3 separate regions of the Homo sapiens genome follow, and all the other regions are linked to region 1. The links are contacts of gene promoters, found by promoter capture Hi-C in blood cells and fetal thymus (Javierre and others, 2016). All regions are on one chromosome and are shown on one strand. Each heading gives the region's core, a stretch centred on a gene start or on the middle of the fragment in contact. The rest is flanking DNA. Distances are from core to core; before and after follow the strand shown. Region 1 holds the start of MTF1 (metal regulatory transcription factor 1). Region 2 overlaps AKIRIN1 (akirin 1). Region 3 overlaps GJA9 (gap junction protein alpha 9).

Evidence for each region. Contacts are between HindIII fragments. The CHiCAGO score rates a contact against its expected background, and 5 or more counts as called.
Region 2: a contact is called between a fragment that was not itself captured here and the fragment with the promoter of MTF1 in region 1, in 1 of 17 cell types (neutrophils). The highest score is 5.5, in neutrophils.
Region 3: a contact is called between a fragment that was not itself captured here and the fragment with the promoter of MTF1 in region 1, in 8 of 17 cell types (neutrophils, non-activated CD4 T cells, fetal thymus and 5 more). The highest score is 10.7, in neutrophils.

The regions. Positions count from the first base shown.
Region 1 is chr1:37,856,132-37,860,884 of GRCh38, forward strand. MTF1 (metal regulatory transcription factor 1) reads right to left here and starts at 3,461. Exons shown (of 11, transcript NM_005955.3): 1 at 3,400-3,461; 2 at 1,120-1,578. The coding sequence starts at 1,527. INPP5B (inositol polyphosphate-5-phosphatase B) reads right to left here. Exons shown (of 24, transcript NM_005540.3): 24 at 4,566-4,753. RefSeq lists a silencer at 3,398-3,727. The HindIII fragment of the contact is 3,574 bases long and covers 2,674-4,753 here.
Region 2 is chr1:38,992,786-38,997,538 of GRCh38, forward strand. All of the region lies in intron 1 of AKIRIN1 (akirin 1), which reads left to right. Among named protein-coding and RNA genes, the nearest start is that of AKIRIN1, 3.9 kb to the left of the region's middle. The HindIII fragment of the contact is 5,767 bases long and covers 1-4,753 here.
Region 3 is chr1:38,875,215-38,879,967 of GRCh38, forward strand. GJA9 (gap junction protein alpha 9) reads right to left here. Exons shown (of 2, transcript NM_030772.5): 2 at 1-979. The coding sequence starts at 884. It overlaps RRAGC-DT (RRAGC divergent transcript), which reads left to right. Exons shown (of 2, transcript NR_186075.1): 2 at 727-1,012. The region is part of intron 1 of GJA9-MYCBP (GJA9-MYCBP readthrough); the gene reads right to left. Among named protein-coding and RNA genes, the nearest start is that of GJA9, 4.0 kb to the right of the region's middle. RefSeq lists a silencer at 4,413-4,597. The HindIII fragment of the contact is 8,897 bases long and covers 1-4,753 here.

The DNA.
Region 1 (4,753 bases), core at 2,211-4,710:
ATAACCTGCTCTCATTTACTGTCTCTTGCCTGAATTTCCTTTTTTTTTTTTTTTTTTTTTTTTTGAGACTGAGTCTCTCTCTCTCATCCAGCCTGGAGTGCAGTGGCACGATCTTGGCTCCCTGCCACCTCCACCTCCCAGATTCAAGTAATTCCCCTGCCTCAGCTTCCCAAATAGCTGGGATTACAGGCACCCGCCACTATGCCTGGCTAATTTTTCTATTTTTAGTACAGATGGAGTTTCACCATGTTGGCCAGGGTGCTCTTAACCTCAGGTGATCCACCTGCCTCGGCCTCCCAAAGTGCTGGGATTACAGAAAGTGTTAGGATTACAGGCATGAGCCACTGTGCCCAGCCTGAATTTCTTTCTTTTTTTTTTTTTTTTTTTAGATGGAGTCTCACTCTATCGCCCAGGCTGGAGTACAGTGGCATGATCTCGGCTCACTGCAACCTCTGCCTCCCGGGTCCAAGTGATTCTCCTGCCTCAGCCTCCTGAGTAGCTGGGATTACAGCCATGTGCCACCAAGCCTGGCTAATTTTTGTATTTTTAGCAGAGACAGGGTTTCACCATGTTGGCCAGGCTGCTCTCGAACTCCTGACCTCAAATGATCCACCCGCCTCAGCCTCCCAAAGTGCTGGGATTACAGGCGTGTGCCACTGTGAAATAAAAGTTCATTAAACATTCACTAAGATAATAAAACATATTCCAGCAGATACTCATCTCTAAAACAAATCATTTAAACACAACCAGGAGATAAGCCAAATATAGTTATTTCTTCATCAAATAAGCAAACTCCAGTTATTTCCCTGTAGATAAGCTAAATAGTTATTTTAGCACCAGAAACATGGGTCTACTTAAGTGAAATTTCTGTTTTATTTATGATTTGGGGAAGGAAATTCGAGAAATTACAATTTGATATTCCCAAATTTCAATGTGGCTATACAAACCAAAAGTTCCAGAAGCAATCACAACAAAACCTGAGGCATATGTTGTTGATAGCAAAACTACTTAAGTCCTAACCCCATGCACTCCTTTACTCCCCAGCTAAAATTTGCACCAAGAATTTTGTAAGGACTTGCCCCAAAACCAAACTAGGCCCTCACTGACTGCTTTACTTACTTCTTTACGTTTTGTTTCCGGACATTCCGACTGCAGAGTGAGGGTTGCACCTTCAATATTTCTTGGCATGGGTGTGGAACCAGGGTTTATTGTCAAATGAATCTGATCTGGTGAGATAATGTGCTGCACATAACCCTGGGACATTGCTTCATGATCTATCAGGTGAAAGCCCTCTTCACCCCCTACTAGAAAAGGCAAGTGTTCTCCGCACTGTCCGTCGTCATCTTCATCCTCCAAAGTGCCAGGGTCCTGCTCAATAAGAACAGTGGTCCTATCATAAACAGTTCCAGATGAGGAAGGCACCAGTCCGTTTTTATCCACAAACCTGAGCATTTTATCATCGGGGGTCAGCTCATCTTCCTCTGCCTCAAAGTAGATGATGTTGTTGTCTGGACTGTGTTCCCCCATGGTTCAGTTGTGCTCAGCCCAGTTGTGAGAAATGAAAACGTAATGACTTGTCTGCAACAGAACAAAGCCAGAGTTAGAGTCATACCACAAGACCGACGGACCTCCTCAGCAACCACAAGGCTCATTTTCCCTCTCACTTAAAGAGCAAGCCAAAGCAAATGAAAAACCATCCTTGGGAATAATTTTTTTATTTTAACTTTAAAACCATCAAGTCATTTTTAAAGAAAAGCAATGCCGACTGGGCGTGGTGGCTCACACCTGTAATCCCAACACTTTGGGAGGCTAAGATGGGAGGATCGCTTGAGGCCAGGAGTTTGAGATCAGCCTGGTCAACATAGTGAGACCCCCATCTCTAATAAAAAAAAAAAAAAAAGAAAAAGAAAGAAAAGCAATGCTTTTCAAAAACTGAATAAGTTCATAAGACCTTCTGAATACGCCTGTCAAACAATTTGAAACTTGGTCAAAATATTTAAAGGGGACAAAAGAGCAAACAGAACAGCAGCTGCTGAAAGGCTGAGTTGCTACAAATCTTAAGGGAAACTCCATCCATTCAAATATCCTCCAAATCAGACCACGAGGCAGTAAATGGTTTCATGCAGTTTATGGTAGAAGGAGCAAGGCTTTGGAGGCAGAGTCATCTACCTACAAATCCTGTCTTTGCCTTTTACTACATGGGTAACTTTTCTGTGCCTCATTTTTCTTACGTGCAAGGTGGGACCAGTAATTCCTGTTCTCTCAAAGTTTTTATAAGAAATAAAAGAGGCAACATATGTAAAGCACAATGTTTGGTAAATAGTAGAGGAACAAGTATGAATTCCTTCCCCCCTACCTAGAACAGATGTTTCAACCTTCTGGGTGGAAGGGCTATTCCTCAATCAGGCACAAACAACGAAGATCACTGTATCTATTTATGTCCTAAAACAATATGGTGTCAACAAGAAGTTATGGTTCTGTGGTGGGCTCTCGTCCCTGAATCAATTGAGTCTTATTATTTTTGTTTCTACAGCTCCTAGCATAGTACACTGATACTATGATAAGAGTTCAGGAAATGTCAGCTAAATGACTGAAAGACATGGCTACCTACTCTCTCGTGAAGATATACTATCTTGGGAAGATACATTCTCTTGAGAAAAATACCACATTTGAAGCTTTCATGTTCTGGAATAGTGATTCTTCCTTCATCTGCAAACACAGGCTCTACAAATGTGGGTTTGGCAGGCAGAATAGAGAATTTTAAAATAATCAGCACATCCCTTTTAGTTTTCAGTCTGGCTTTGCGCTTTATCTTTCTCTTCTGCTCTGGGTTAGAAAGTGAGCCTTTACTTAGTGGGATGGCTAGACAGTTACCAGAGACAGGCCAAAGGATTGGATCCGGGAGGTACCGGCCCGACCCCTAGCTCTGGCTTACGCAACCCCACAGATGTACATTTCGCTGCATCTGAGCAGAGAGAGAAGAGCACCGAGGGCCCCAGTGGGCTGCCCCGGCACCCTCGGCGGCAACGCGGAGACCAACTGTCCGAAACAAACAAGACCAGGAGGTTTGAGGGTAGCCAACGAGGAGTGCGAACAGAGCCCCCTTGAGAGGAGGCTGGGAAAAGGAACCTGTCTGGGATAGCCCCCAGCACAGGGCTACACAGAAAAATCCGAAGACAAGCTGGGGGTCTCCAAGCAAGGAGGAGAGGGGCAGGGTCCGGGTCTCCATGGAAACAGGGAAGGGGGGCTGGATACCCATCCCCATGGAAACGGAGAAGGGGTGGGGTCCCTATGGTGACCAAACTGAGGTCTCTATTGGGAAATGCTTCAGGAGGGAGCCTAAGTCCCGCGCCTCCCGGTAAGTCCCAAGCCCAGGCCGAGTCTAGTTTCGCCTTTTACCTCCGCGGCTCCCGGCAACGGCGGCAGCAGCAGCTTCTCCCCTCCCCAGCGGCACCATGATTGCCCCCACCTTCCCCTAACGTCACTTCCGCTTCCTCTTTCCGGAGGAAGGTGGGGACAGAGGATCCGCCCCTCCCTGGCGCCTCTGGTTGGCTCAGGTTGTCAGGGGGCTGAGCTGCAGCCTCCAATTGGCGAGCGGGGCACCGAGGGGAAGGCGCCCAGGAGGTGGGTTCATCCGCGTGGGGAAGCGCCCGGGGTGGCCACGCGGGGCCCGGAGGGTGTCGCCCTCGCGGCACCGGAGTCAAGGAGAAGGGAACGAATCCCCAAGGAAGAATCCGAAATGTCCTCAGCCAGGTTTGCGCTGACCGCCCTCGCCCTGGCAGCCACAGCCGCAGCGGGAAGGACCACAGTTGGCAGTCAGAACCCTGGCTCCAACCCGCCAGGGGAGCCTGGACGGCCGCGACGTTCCCGGGTTTCTCCTGCCGGGACCCCGGCCTTCCCTTCAGCACCCATCAAAGTTAACACAGGCAGGAGGCCCAGAAAGGAAGACAAGACCCCAAAGGCAGAACTAAGAGTATTCTAAGCCCAGCTGGAGAGGACGCCGCCGCCTCTTCCCCTTCTCACGCGCTTGCCTAGGACCCCCAGCTCCCTTCTCACGCGCTTGCCCAGGCTGGCGGTCCCAACTTTCTTCCCCTGCAAGAGGACGCGGCTACGGCGGGACTCATGCCCGGGCCAGTTAGCGCCACCTACCGGCCACTCCCTTCCTTTCACCGTTCACATTGTCCTGCTGGCCCGCGTCTTAAACCCATTTCACAGTGCCCAGAAGTAGTGGGCATTCGTACCCAGGAAGCGATTCTGCCTTCGTTATGCCCCTGTCCTTTCCAAATGCCTGGAGGATCTAGCTGTTAGATCCTCCCAGCTGCCACTGCCTGTTTTAACCATAAGCTGCTTCTCTCGAATATTCAGAGTGGGACAACTCCAAAGACCAGACCAGGGGTCAAGGGGTTCAGGTCAGTGCCATAACCATTTCTTGCTGGAAGTATGTGAATAGTGACTGGTACCCACCAGACTGCCAGGAATATGTCTCTTTGGCCCCAAGGCTTGAGCCACAAAATCCAGCTGCAGCGAACTGCCATCTCTTAAGACATAAAAACATACACAACCGCCACTGTTAAAAATACATTTATCATTAAAATATATTACACATGGAGACAGGATGCATCATATACAGTTTGGAAGACTTGCTGGCCCAGAAAATCCCACTTGTTTCACCGAACACTCATTTTTTCAGTGATTTTACATTTTATTTTTAGAGACGGGGTCTCCCTCTCTCACCCGGGCTGGCGTACAGTGA
Region 2 (4,753 bases), core at 1,334-3,833, 1.1 Mb after region 1:
CCACCGCTCTGTGCCCTTATCATGTTTTTCCCTTCTATTTGCTAATCCCAAAAGAGTAATTTCAAGTCTCTTATCCATTAGCTGACTAACCTGCCCATAAAAAACGCTGTTCTACTTAAATTCCCCGGCCATTCAATGTTGTATAACCTTATGTACAGGATGAGATAATGTTTGCAAAAGTCCATTTTAAAGAACCCTCAAAGACAGGCGCCATAGATGGCCACTTGCAGTGATGTTTAGTTCTTCCCTAGCTCCTGCAGATACCTAAAGATAGTCCATAATCTTTTTGGGTCTCACTTCTGCAAATTGGAGTTCATACTTGCGCTATCTTTTGTTGAAGAACCCTCAAGATAGTTGCAAAAAGTATTTTGAAAAGTATAAAGTGATGGGTTTAATGTAAATGTTTTATTCAATACTACTATCCTCTAGACTAATTTGGTTGTAGTTCACATTACAGTAGCTGCTTCGTAAGTGATTTTTGGGCTGGGCGAGGTGGCTTATGCCTGTAATCCCAGCACTTCGGGAGGCCATGGTGGGTGGATCAAGAGACCGAGACCATCCTGGCCAACATGGTGAAAACCCTGTTTCTACTAAAAATAGCCGGGCGAGGTTGCGTTGAGCCAAGATCGCGCCACTGCACTCCAGCCTGGCGACAGAGCGAGACTCCATCTTAAAAAAAAAAAAAGTTATTTTTGTTTTGGGGGCAGTGGTGGCATGCACTTGTAATCCCAGCTACTAGGGAAGCTGAGGCAGGAGAATCGTTTGAAGCCGGGAGGCAGAGGTTGCAGTGAGCGGAGATCACACCATTGCGCTCCAGCCTGGGCCACAAGAGCGAAACTCCATCTCAAAAAAAAAAAAAAAAGAGAATGTGGGCAAGGCGTGGTGGCTCACACCTGCAATCCCAGCACTTTGGGAGGCTGAGGCAGGAGGATTGCTTGAGCCCAGGAATTCGAGACAAGTCTGTGCAACATAATGAGACCTTGTTTCCACAAAAGAATTCTAAGGCCGGGCGCAGTGGCTCACTCCTATAATCCCAGCACTTTGGGAGGCGGAGGCGGGCGGATCACCTGAGGTCGGGAGTTCAAGACCACCCTGACACACATGGAGAAATCCTGTCTCTACTAAAAATACAAAATTAGTGGGGCATGGTGGTGCATGCCTGTAATCCCAGCTACTCGGGAGGTTGAGGCAGGAGAATCGCTTGAACCTGGGAGGCGGAGATTGCGGTAAGCCGAGATCCGGCCATTGCACTCCATCCTGGGTGACAAGAGTGAAACTCCATCTCAAAAAAAAAAAAAAGCTAAAAAATTAGCTGGGCAATTTTTCTGAAATCCGAAATGCTGCAAAGTCTGAACTGATCCAAAAATTGAGTGTCAATATGACACTCAAAGGAAATACTTATTCACTGGAGTTTTTCTCATTTGGGGTAAGGGATGTTCAATTGGTAAGTATAATGCAACTATTCCACAATCCAAAACTTCTGTCTCAAGCATTTTGGATGAGGGATGCTCAATCTGTATGGTACTTTTTGTGGAAAGGTCCTGTAAAACTAAGCCTTTTATTGCTTAAATCTTTATTGAGTGCTAGGTGAATTCCAGACATGGAAGAAGGGGGTTGCTGACCGCAGGAAATATTTGTAAACGTAATGTGCAAAGCAATTAACTGATTATGACTTGAGAGTCTGAGAATAACTTCTGAATTAAGGTAGCATTTTAGCTGAGTCTTTTTTTGTTGTTTTTTGAGACAGAGTCACTCTGTTGCCCAGGCTGGAGTGTAGTGGCACGATCTTGGCTCACTGCAACCGCCGTCTCCCATGTTCAAGCGATTCTCCTGCCTCAGCCTCCCCAGTGGCTGGGATTACAGGCATGTGTCACTACGCTCGGCTAATTTTTTTTTTTTTTTTTTTTTTTTTTTTTTTTTTGAGATGACGTTTCGCTCTTGTTGCCCAGGCTGGAGTGCAGTAGCATGATCTCGGCTCACTGCAACTTCCACCTCCCAGACTCAAGCGATTCTCCTGCCTTAGCCTCCCAGAACGCTGGGATTACAGGCGCATGCCACCATTCTCAGCTAATTTTTGTATTTTTAGTGGAGATAGGGTTTCATCATACTGGTCAGGCTGGTCTCAAACACCTGACCTCAGGTGATCCGCCTGCCTCAGACTCCCAAAGTGCTGGGATTACAGGCATGAGCCACCACACCCGGCCTACTAATTTTTGTATTTTTTTTGTCAAGACAGGGTTTCACTGTATTGGCCAAGCTGGTCTCAAACTCCTGACCTCAGGTGATCTGCCCGCCTCGGCCTCCCAAAGTGCTGGGATTGCATGAGCCACTGCGCCTGGCTAGCTGAGTCTTGATCAAGTTTGAGCAATAGTCCCATTTCGAGCACAGGGAAACCATGAGAGCAAAGTCCAAAAAACCCACAATTTAAGGAGAGAATAATGTAATGTAACTAAATTATAGTGGAATCCAGATGGAACCAGGAAAATAAATTGAGGCCACATCTTGGAAAGTATTGACTGCCATGTTCAAGAGTTTGAATTTTGGTTTGTAGCAGTAGGAACACTGTAGAGTTTGGAGGATGGGCTTAGACCGGAAAAAATCTGGCAGCACAACCTCAAGTAATGGAGGGAAGGATTAAAATTATCCACTGTTAAAAAGAAATTTGAGTTTTTCTTTTTAAAAAAATTTTGTGCTTTATATGGCCTTCTACAGAAGAAAATCATGTCTAACTTTCTTATTTTTCTCCCATGGATACCGTGTTTAGATTCTTGGACTTCTTAGTCCTACCACCCTCAAAATTGTATCTTTCCATTTGTTAACATTGCCATACAGGAGGCAGAGGTTTATCAAAGACCTTCTGTTCTCTTAAGCGTTGTCCTCATACTTGTCCTTTCTTGTTTCAAGTATTTGCAGTTCTTATCCTTGTATTGGCTCTGGCTTGAGGAATAAGACATCTTAAAATACAGGGGGCTAGCGGTGGCTCACGCCTGTATTCCCAGCACTTTGGGAGGCCGAGGCGGGCGGATCAGCTGAGGTCAGGAGTTTGAGACCAGCCTGGCCAACATTGTGAAACTCTGTCTCTACTAAAAATACAAAAAATTAGGTGGGTGTGGTGGCGGGCTCCTGAAATCCAAACTACTCTGGAGGCTGAGGCAGGAGAATTGCTTGAACCTGGGAGGTAGAGGTTGCAGTGAACTGAGATTGTGCTATTGCACTACAGCCTGGGCGACAGGGTAAGACTCTCTTAAAAAATAAAGTGAGGTGAAAACTTAATAAATTCAGGAATCTAAAATACAAACTTCATAGCACTGTTTTGTTTTGTTTTTTGAGACAGTGTCTTACTCTGTTGCCCAGGCTGGAGTCCAATGGGGTGATCTCGGCTCACTGCAATCTCCACCTCCTGGGTTGAAGCAATTCTCCTGCCTCAGCCTCCCAAGTAGCTGGGATTACAGGTGCGCACCACCATGCCCAGCTAATTTTTGTATTTTTAGTAGAGATGGTTTCGCCATGTTGGTCAGGCTGGTCTCGAACCTCAGGTGATCCACCTGCCTAGGCCTCCCAAAGTGCTGGGATTACAGGCGTGAGCCACCATGTACAGGCTTTTTTTCTTTTTTTTAATACTGGGTCTCGTTATGTTGCCCAGGCTGGCCTCAAGTGATCCTCCCACCTTGGCCTTCCAAAGTGCTGGATTACAGGCATGAGCCACAGTGCCTGGCCCATAGCACTCTTGTTTTTTTGTTTTGTTTTTCTATTTTTTTTTTGAGGCAGAGTCTTGATTGTGTTTCCCAGGCTGGAGTGCAGTGGCACAATCTCGGCTCAGTGCAACCTCCACCTCCCCGGTTCAAGAGATTCTCCTGCCTCAGCTTCCTGAGTAGCTGGGACTACAGGCACGTGCCACCACGCCTGGCTAAATTTTTTTATTTTTAGTAGAGACGGTGTTTCACCATGTTAGCCAAGATAGTCTCGATTTCATGACCTTGTGATCTGCCTGCCTCAGCCTCCCAAAGTGCTGGGATTACAGGCATAAGCCACCATACCCAGCTGGCCCATAACACTCTTAAAGCATCTCCTACATTGTTCTAGTATTTAGGCTGAAAGTTAGGGACTTTGACTATGTGTGGAACCACTTGAATTCATGTCAGTTCCTGGACTGTACTGTCACTTGTTATGACATTATTGTTACCTTTAGTTTTTATTTTTACAACCTTATCAGGTAGGTATTTAATGTTTACATTGAAGAAGTAAAGATCCTGAATAACTTCTCAAGGTTATAGTCACACAGCTAGTAAGAAGCAAAGTGGCATTGTTAATACCTCCCACCATTAAAAAAAAAAAGGTGGTTATAGCAAAGTATACACTAGAATAATTTGAGTTGTTTGAGATGGATACAGGTATCTCTTTTTTTAAATTAGTAGGTACAAACAAAGAACTTGAAAACCACATCCTTTTAGATTCTTTGTTGTTTCTAGGAGTGTATTTCAAGGTGGTTAGTAATTTGTGTTTCCTGGGCTCCCTTTAATAGTGTTAGCAAATTTGCTTTGTGATTACCTTGACTTATAATCTCCCCACACACTGAGTTGCCTCTTAGGATCAGAAAATTATTTTCTAAGCCCTGACCATCACTTCTAGGCATTAAATCTCAGTTCTTTCCTTGGTCGATGTCCACACTGTAAACATAATGGTTTCTGCTGCCCCCTTTCCCAAAGTTTATTTTGATTTGTTTTTTAGATAAATCACCCAGGCTCCCTTGTGG
Region 3 (4,753 bases), core at 391-2,890, 1.0 Mb after region 1:
GCAGTGTGTGTTTGCTTTTCCACTAACAGATTATAATCAGGGGCAGAAGGGAGTCGCTTCAGTGAATTTGCAGATGTGCTCTGGTATTTGGCTACATTTTGTTTTGCCTTGTTTGCATGGAATTCATTATGTTCCTTCTTCAACTTGTATTTTCCCCAAAGCCCTCTTTTAATCTTTTTAAAACCTAGGTGGAAAATTTCAAGAATGTTTAAGAAAAGTGAAATAGTGGCTATAGATTGCATAAATAATAGGAATATTGTCTTTTCTGTTGGTCTTGAGACAAAACAGTCGATTATATTTGGACACGGGTGGCCATGGCACTTAAATAGCGGCTCTAAGTGAAATCCATATAAAAGGTACTGTCCAATCATGAATCCAACTTCAACCACAGAGCGAGTGAAAATGTGTATCACATAAGTGCAAAGCAAGGTTCCTCTGAGTGGAGCTTTATTTAGTTTCCTTTTCTCCAGCTGACAAAGCTCTTGCTCCAATCTCCTCCGATCCCTAGGCATTTCAAACTCTACCTCCTCCAGTTCTACTCTTAACTGAGCTTTCATCCTTTGCCTCTCTTCCTCAAGAACTCTCAGTCGGTACAATGCATGGCCCATGTAGACCAGGGATGGTGAAGACACAAATATCACCTGCAGAACCCAGTATCTAATGAGGGAGATAGGAAAGGCCTGGTCGTAGCATACATTTCTGCAGCCTGGTTGTTCTGTATTGCAGATGAAGCCAGACTGCTCATCATTCCAGACATCTTCAGCTGCTACACCCAGAACAAGCATTCGAAATATGAACAGGATGGTGAGCCAGATCTTTCCAATCATGGTGGAGTGGATGTGAACTTCCTCCAGAGTATCTCCAAGGAGATTCCAGTCCCCCATGTTTATTTAGTCAGCCATCTTAGCTCTGATCCACATCAAATAAGAGGCAGATAAATTCTTCCATTCTGAAGGGAGCACTATTTCTTAAAGCAAACCTATGGTGAAAATATAACAATATGTCACTTCTATATGCTGGTTGCTTTACTTTTTCCCTAGATAGCTGTGGGGTTTTTTCTTTGTTTGTTTGTTTGTTGAGACAGAGTCTCCCTCTGTTGCCCAGGCTGGAGTACAGTGTTGCAACCACAACTCCCTGCAGCCTCAACCTCCCAGACTCAAGCGATCATCTCCCCTCTCAGCCTCCTGAGTAGCTGGGACTGCAGGTGTGTGCAACTACACCCAGATAATTTTTTTTATTTTTTTGTAGAGACAGGGTCTCACTCTATTGCTGCAGCTAGTCTTAAACTCCTAGACTCAAGTGATCCTCTTGCCTTCACCTCCCAAAGTGTGGGAATTACAGGTGTGGGTCACCACACCTGGCCAAAGTGTGAATCTGTTACCAATAATATACTTAAATGTCAGGAATTTAAAATCACTTATATTTAGACATCACAATACAATGAAAAAAACATGATACCTGGAGGAGGAGTGTATATATTCTCTATTAAGAATATAGGCTGGGCGGGGTGGCTCACACCTGTAATCCCAACACTTTGGGAGGCCAAGGTGGGTGGATCATTTGAGGTCAGGAGTTCCAGACCAGCCTGGCCAACATGGTAAAACCCCGCCTCTACTAAAAATACAAAAATTAGCCAGGCGTGGTGGCAGGCGCTTGTAGTCCCAGCTACTCGGGAGGCTGAGGCAAGAGAATCGCTTGAACCTGGAAGGCAGAGGTTGCAGTGAGCTGAGATCAAACCCTTGACCTCAGATGATCTGGCCACCTCGGCCTCCCAAAGTGCTGGGATTACAGGCATGAGCCAATGCGCATGGCCTAAAATTATATTCTTTTTTTTTTTTTTTTTGAGACGGAGTCTCACTCTGTAGCCCAGGCTGGAGTGCAATGGCATGATCTCAGCTCACCGCAACCTCCACCTCCTGGGTTCAAGCGATTCTCCTGCCTCAGCCTCCTGAGTAGCTGTGATTACAGGCATGCACCACCATGCCCGGATAATTTTGTATTTTTAGTAGAGATGATGTTTCTCCATGTTGGCCAGGCTGGTCTCGAACTCCTGACCTCAGGTGATCTGCCCACCTCGGCCTCCCAAAGTGCTGGGATTACAGGCGTGAGCCACCATGCCCAGCCTATTGTTGTTTTTCAACAGAACTTTTGGAAAGGTTTCTAAAACTAGTAACCTGATCTTAACCTTATTTATTAAGATTATTTGATATAAAAGTTATAACAAAGTCAATTTCTTTTTCCCCAACATGCCATTACTGGCTTGAAAAGTCAGTGATTTTTTTTTCTTTCTTTCTTTCTTTTGGGACAGAGTCTTGCTCTGTCGCCAGGCTGGAGTGCAGTGGCGCAATCTCGGCGCATTGCAACCTCCGCCTCCTGGGTTCAAGCGATTCCCCTGCCTCATCCTCCTGAGTAGCTGGGATTACAGGCGCCTGCCAACACCCCCCGGGATAATTTTTTGTATTTTAGTAGACACGGGGTTTCACCATGTTGGCCAGGATGATCTCGATCTCCTGACCTCGTGATCCACCCGCCTCAGCCTCCCAAAGTGCCAGGATTACAGGCATGAGCCACCGTGCCCGGTCAAAAAGTCAGTGATTTTTAAATCTCATTTATACACATAGGAAAACGAATATGCTTCATTTGATAATTCAGTAAGATATGGCATTCAGTGAAACCAGAGGAAACAGATCTGGCTGTCATAGGAATTTAGATTAGTTTTTTTAATCCAAATTGAAATAAATTTGAAATAAATTCTGGTTTCTTCCTGGCAATTGGTGAACATTTTCAGAAATTCATCTCAGTAATATTTATGAATATGTATAAAGTACTTATTATACTTTACTATGAAAAAGTATACTTTTTTTCTTTTTTTTTGGTGGGGGGAGACAGAGTCTCACTCTGTTGCCCAGACTAGAGTGCAGTGGCAGGATCTCAGCCCACTGCAACCTCCACTTCCCAGGTTCAAGTGATTCTCGTGCCTGAGCCTGCCAAGTAGCTGAGACTACAGGCAAGTGCCACCACGCTTGGCTAATTTTTGTATTGTTAGTAGAGACGGGGTTTCACCATGTTGGCCAGGCTGGTCTTGAACTCCTGAACCTTGAGTGATCCACCCGCCTCGGCCTCCCATAGTAAGCCACCGCGCCCAGCCCAAATTTTGTAAATTCTTACGTTAAAATGAACTTCAAGCCCAGCACAGTGGCTCACACCTGTAATCCCAGCACTTTGGGAGGCCGATGCGGATCACCTGAGGTCAGGAGTTCGAGACCAGCCTGGCCAACATGGTGAAACACTGTCTCTACAAAAATACAAAAAATTAGCTGGGTGTGGTGGCAGGCATCTGTAACCCCAGCTACTCAGGAGGCTGAGGCAGGAGAATCACTTGAACCTGGGAGGCAGAGGTTGCGGTGAGCCAAGATCGCGCCATTGCACTCCAGCCTTGGCGACAAGAGCAGAAACTCTGTCTCAGAAAACAAAAAGAACTCCAAAAATTCTCAACTATTTTATGGTACCAGAATCTTTTTTTTTTTTTTTTTTTTGAGACGAAGTTTCCCTCTTGTTGCCCAGGCTGGAGTGCAATGGCACAATCTCGGCTCACCGCAACCTCCACCTCCCAGGTTCAAGTGATTCTCCTGCCCCAGGCTCCAGAGTAGCTGGTATTACAGACATGCGCCACCATGCCCAGCTAATTTTGTATTTTTAGTAGAGATGGGGTTCCTCCATATTGGTCAGGCTAGTTTCGAACTCCCAACCTCAGGTGATCCACCTGCCTCGGCCTCCCAAAGTGCTGGGATTACAGGCGTGAGCCACTGCGCCCGGCCTTATGGTACCAGAATCTCATTATAGATATTACTTGCAATAGATTGTTCACTGGTATGGTGGCAGTATTATGGAAACTTTCACTGTAGCAGTATTTGACCTATTTAAGACATATAGCTGCTCTCTTGAAGGAAGCAGTGGGGCAAGTTATAATTTAGCTGCTTGGATTATTTGCCGGCAGATTGCATATTAAGGTTGGTATCCCAGGTTATCTCAGAGGAAATATACCCCAAAGGAAAGATTTTAAAAGTGAATATTTTCATTATTTTTCATTTAAAATATAAATGTATGTCCTGTCCCCTTTATATAAAGGGAACTGTTACACAATCAAACAAACTACTAAGATACAAGATGTGTTCATCACTAAAATCCTATGCGGTAAGTATGTTGTTTCCCCCATCTTACAGATGAGGAAACGGAAGCACACCTTAATTTACCTGAGGTCACACAGCTGGAGCTGGCATTCAAACCCAATCATTGTGGCTTTAGAGTCAGCTCCTTAAATTTTTTACTAAACTATTATTTTTCCTCTGTAAGCAAACTTCAAATTTGCCGGAAAGAAACATTAAGAGATTATCTGTTTTCTCTTAAGTTTAATCATTTAAATTTAGGAATGTAAAATAGTGATAGCTTTGGCTTTTTAAATAACTAGTTCTAGAGTCTTTAGTTCCTTTCTTCAGCCTTTGTTCTGTTTTTTTTGTTCGTTTGTTTTCTGAGACGGAGTCTCGCCCTGTCGCCCAGGCTGGGGTGCAGTGGCGCGATCTCGGCTCACTGCAAGCTCCGCCTCCCGGGTTCACGCCATTCTCCTGCCTCAGCCTCTCCGGGTAGCTGGGACTACAGGCGCCTGCCACCACGCCCGGCTAATTTTTTTGTTATTTTTAGTAGAGACGGGGTTTCACCGTGATCTCGATCTCCTGACCTCGTGATCCTCCCGCCT